Regions from separate parts of the Homo sapiens genome. Here region 1 is linked to region 2. Evidence: promoter capture Hi-C in human tissues and cell types (Jung and others, 2019). All regions are on one chromosome and are shown on one strand. Each heading gives the region's core, a stretch centred on a gene start or on the middle of the fragment in contact. The rest is flanking DNA. Distances are from core to core; before and after follow the strand shown.

Region 1 (2,700 bases), core at 168-2,667, 390 kb after region 2:
CAGCAGCCCTTTTGGTTACTACTATTGTCTCTGTTTTGCAGATCAGGAAACTGAGACTTAGGAAGATTGAGTAACCCGCCTAATGTCTTGGTATCTGGGAAGTGGAAGAAACTGTTTTTAACATAAGTGCACTAAGCACCAGGTTAGTTCTAAAAGTCTCAGTTTCCAAGTCATTTCTAGTTCTTTCTCAGCATCGTTTTGAGGCTCCATTAGGATAGGCTAATGGAAAAGTTTTGTAAATAGTAAACTGGTTGTCATTTATGTGATTTCAGAGAGTCTCTTCCAGGTCTGTGATTCTGATATTGTTATTTAACTAAGTCTGAAATACAGGTCTTAAGAATGTAGAATTTGTGTTTCTGTGGTTCTAGAGATTCCTAAACTTGCCTTCAGTTATTCTAATGAGTTACATCTATAGACTCTTTGATAAAAAAGCATGGTCATGGAAGATAAGTTTGTTTTTCTTTAATAGTCTCTAAACTCCAGTGCAATTACACTTGATCTGCAGATTCACAGCTTGAATAATAATGCACATTTGCATTCAGAAATATTTACTAAGGGTTTAGTACAATTTTTACTAAGGGTTTACAACAAATATACTGTGCTATGAACTATATTCAGGGGATATAAAGGAAAAATAGATATAGACTCTGCCCTCAAGAAGCTCATAGTCTATTGAACAGATTGTAAATTGACATTTCAAAATTAGTTTCTTTGAATTTGACAAAAAATAAATATGTAGAAATATGTATAAATCTTCTAAGAAATGCCAACATTGTCAGCTGTGAAACACATGCACATTAAAAATGAATCTTTTGAATTTAAGTTCATTTTCAAACAGAAATCCATATAATGGCATAATAAATTCATCTTTTCAAATGGCACTAATTCATTGAGTCGTTAGTGAGCACCTATAGAAGTTACCTTTCTTGTAACAGAAAATAAAACATAACACACTATGATACACTTGACAGCTAACTCAGTCAGCTCCAAAACAAACTCATAATATTGCTTTAGGACCTTTTATTTCATATGTATTTCCTGGTGAACAGCACCATCTTCCCAAGTTACAATTCTCAAGACCCCTTTTCTCTCACCTCCATCAGCCATTGAAATGTGCATTTTATTTTGTATACATGAGGCTTGGCTCAGGGAATGATACAAATTATTATTTCTGTGTTTACTGTGGTTATATTAATGCTTAGAGGTCCATGCCTAAACACTTTTAACACTTTCTACAAAATTTTTTCTTTCTTTTTAATTATTTATTATTTTGGAGAAACGGGGTCCCGCTGTGTTGCCCAGACTGGTCTTGAACTCTTGGCCTCAAGTGTTCTGCCTGCCTCAGCTTCCCAAAGCACTAGGATTATAGTCAGCCACAATGCTTGGCCCCTAAGCACTGTATATGATGTATTTTAATGCACATTGCTTTAGATATTTCTAGTAAAATCAAGGCAAGTTGTCATTCCCATTAATTTATAACTTAGACTCTGAAACTCAAAGAGGATGATTAATTTGTCAACAATTCACATAGCTAATGAACAGCAAAGCTGGGTGCTGAATCCAGGCCTTGCTGCAGAGGCTATGCTCTTCTACACCAGAGAGCCAATTTTGGAAGAATGGAAGTGTTTCTACAAATGAAAAAAATGGGGACAGACATTAAAGCAGTGCTATGGTCTTTGAAACTGGGAAAGTGGAAGTGTAAACAGACATATTTGGAGTAGAGGTTCTTATGTGGAGATGAGATGGGGTGTCAGCTAAAACTTTAGACTGAAGAGAACCCAAAACAGTAAGAAATTATAAGAGATGAGAGAGGAGTAAGACTTTAATTCAGTCCATTTCACTTTCTTGTGTCTATCCTCTTTATTCTCTAAATTGATACTGCATACCCATGACAGAATTACGGTTCTTGAATTATCAATCCCCTGTCCAAACCATCCCTGTTATCAAATTCAAACTTTTATTTTATTTGCTTCTAAAGTCCTGAATTTATAATTAGGCTTTTGCCCTCCTGTTTTCCCTCCCTCCAACACTATTCATTCATATCCAATGAGATGCTTTCCTGTGCCACCTCATCCCTTTTTGTAGCTTAGGGTTTTTTATTTGCTCTCTTCAACACTCTTTTATACCCCTCCTTGACCTCCTCATTCATTCAAGATTAAACTCCACTTTATTAAGTCTTATTTTTATAAAATCTGGCCCCTCCTAATAGTATTTCTTTGGCAATTATGATACAATGCACAACACCTTCTGATTTAACACATACTTATCACCTTATTCATAACAAGTTGCTTCTGTCTTTCCAGCATATAATAAGCTTTGTAAGGCCCAGTATCAAGTCTGACTTTTTTTTCAATAAAGTGTGTGGCACAGCAAAGAAAGCAAGACAGTTGCCAAGTGAACACTCAGTTAATTAAAGTTACAACTGAACACTAAAGAAGCTGCATATTAACAGGGGCAAATAACTTGGTAGCAAACACACACAGATGCATAAGGAATATAGAATATAGAAGTGATAAATAGTTTGTTATCTATGAGACAATATGAGTGGTTCAGATTCACAGTTGTTGAGTCTAATCTGGGGCTGCCAAAGGATTTTGTTTTATTTAATTGCTCATTTCTCTCCATATAAATTCTGACATCTAAGTATATCGGTCCAATTTTACTTCATTAATCAAATTAGTCTGGGTAATGGACAGTCTT
Region 2 (2,700 bases), core at 66-2,565:
GCAAATAAACATATGGATACCAAATATTCCATTGGACAGATTAAAAATTATTTGCTTTTTATCTGAACTTCAAATTTAACTGAGCGTCCTGTTTTTATCTGGCAAACCTACAGGGAAGGGAATACTTGGAAGTGGAGGGAGGGTGAATGGAGATAATTTTGGAAGCCTTCCTTTAGAAAGGAATTTCTAAAAATGAATGCTAGGCATAGCGGAGAAGCAGGGAGGAAACACAGCAATGCAAACTGACTTCCCAGTAGCCACTGTAGAGTTCAGGAACTGAAAGAAGCAAAGGGAATGGGGTAAGGAAGAAGAAATGTGGGTATAATGTCGAGAGATGAAGGTTGAGGGAAAAGTAGGTGCCTTATTTTTCAGGTTCGATAAGGAGTTTGTACTGTATCACCAGTGGTGAGATTCCACTAAAAAACTTTAAGCAGCTCATTTTGGCTACAACGTGAAGAATGAACTACAGTCCGGCAGACAGGATGTTGGGAGACCAGCTAGGAGGCTACTGATGGAATTCAGGTGAGTCCACAGAGGCCTGGACAGAGGCAGCGGGAAGAAAGGTGCACTAATCACAAACACCTGAACGTGAGACGGCAGAAAATAAGCAACTGCAAACTTGAATATAGAGGAGGACTGGGAGAGAAGAAAGCAGAAGCACATATTTGGGGAAACAGTGAAGAATGGTAAAAAAAAAAAAAAAAAAAAAAAAAAATTCAAATGTCTTCTGGGAAGTATATAGTATGATAAGGACTAAGAAGTGACTCCTAGATTTAGCCATAAGGAAGTCACCAGCGACCTTTGGCACGGGCAGCCTTAGAGGAATGGCTGAGGCCAATTAGGTCGCAGCTGGTCGAGGAGAAGGTGATGCTGGCCTAAGAACCCGACTGGAGCAGCACAAGTTTCCTACTTCTTCTTTGCCCTTTTAACAGGTGAGGGTCAAGGACAAGAGACGAGTTTGGAGATGCAGCGGCCAGTGCCCCAATCAGTTGGAACAGCGCAGCAAGCGGATCTCTAGGGGCCAATCCCTTCCTAGAGTCCACTTGACTGACAGAGCTGCGCGCCACAGACGGGGCACAGACAGGGAGGTGAATCACGAGGGGGCGGAATTCCAGGGCACTAACCCGGAACCGGTTTGGGACTTGATTCCCATTGTGAGGCCAGGCCTAGGGCGGGCTCTCAGCCAGAATGGCTACACCATTCTAACCAATGGATGAGACTCATCAAATGAGCGGCAGCCATATGAGCCATTGGGGTGGCGGGAGATGGGCGGGCCCAGTTAGTGGGCGGGGGATCAATGAAGCATCTTTTTTCCTACCCCCCTTGGGGCGACCGTGGGGAGGTGCCGCCGGGGTCGCAGGTGAGCGGTTCTATGCTGGAGGAGGCGGCCAGGGAAGCGGCGGCTCCGTGACCAGTGGGTGCCCTCGCAGTGGGTAGGGTCCCGGAGGGGTCAGCGGCAATTGGCGCAACGCTTGCTGCCGGGTTTGGTCCAAGGGCTGCGACGTAGCGGGACTGCACGCTCGGGAGAAGTGCCACGCGCGTCTGTCGCCTGACCGGGGAGGCTGGGGAGGGCCCAGGCCACGGAAACAAGACTGCAGAAGTTTCTGGGCACTCAGTCGGGACTCTCATTTAATACCCAGAGAGAGGAGATCTTCCAGGTTGCCCCGACTCCCACCGGGACTCCTACCAGCAGCAACCTCATCATTGTGGCCGAGGCAGGTGCGCGCCCCTGCTCCCCTGGGTGGCCTTCCGGGAGCCCAGTCTAACTCGATTCTTCCCAGGGGCTCTTTTTGGACGGTCCCAAAGGAGGCAGCGGGAGGGAGGTGAAAGATACTTTGATAACCGTCGACCCATAAGTATACTTGTTATGCACCTACCACGAGTTTTAGAGAAGAACATACTTTTTGGCAGGGAAGTGAATCCCCTATAAGAATATAGGGGAGGGGAAAGCCACACTTTAAAGAGAATTTGGGTAGGGTTTGATATTGTAGATTTGTGATGCTTTTCTTCTTGAACTGCTTAACTAATTTACCCTCAAATTTTTTTGATCCGGAACTTGCCGTCTGGTTTTTCTCAGACTTCTTAATTCTGACTTATCATGAAGTATCTAGGAACTTCATTCTCAAGTTTTAGTGCTTGTAAAAAGTTGCCTGGTTATATTATGCCATTGGCAGTACATCATCTTCACAAGGATTACGTAAGTGAACTACATCTCATTCCTGTTTCCAACTAGTGAAGAACGATTGTGAAATGGGATTTTAGAAAATGGCTGTTCTCTGTGATTGGGCATAGAAGGTTTGTAAGTTTTAGAGACTGCAGCTGTTGAATCCTTTCTGCTAAGAGAGCGATGACAGGCAATAGAAAAGGGATAGTGTTTGACATCTAAAATGACATATTTTCACATTTTATGAGGTGTTATATCCCCAGCACCAAAAATAGTGCCTTTCACACAGTAGGAGCTCAGTAAGTATTTTTTGAGGAAATTATTGGGGAATGAATGGATGGTAGAAAACCCAAGCTTCTGTTACTTGGATACCGGCATATAAAGGAGAGGACAGGAAGACAAACATTTCTGGAAATGGCTTTTATCCAGGTAAGCATATCTACAGAACTTCAACAACTCAAGATGCATCAATGCTGGCACTTTCTTGCACTTAATCAGAAAATATCAAGGTTTTAGAAGAAGATTTTCACACAATT

The links. Contacts are between HindIII fragments. The study calls those that stand out against the background at their distance.
Region 1: a contact is called between a fragment that was not itself captured here and the fragment with the promoter of MSANTD4 in region 2, in 1 of the 25 tissues and cell types used here (mesenchymal stem cells).

The regions. Positions count from the first base shown.
Region 1 is chr11:105,631,343-105,634,042 of GRCh38, reverse strand. All of the region lies in intron 3 of GRIA4 (glutamate ionotropic receptor AMPA type subunit 4), which reads right to left. Among named protein-coding and RNA genes, the nearest start is that of GRIA4, 23 kb to the right of the region's middle. The HindIII fragment of the contact is 3,653 bases long and covers 1-2,700 here.
Region 2 is chr11:106,020,855-106,023,554 of GRCh38, reverse strand. It overlaps MSANTD4 (Myb/SANT DNA binding domain containing 4 with coiled-coils), which reads left to right and starts at 1,315. Exons shown (of 3, transcript NM_032424.3): 1 at 1,315-2,593. RefSeq lists enhancers at 774-843, 1,674-1,793 and a silencer at 1,234-1,343. The HindIII fragment of the contact is 5,723 bases long and covers 1-2,700 here.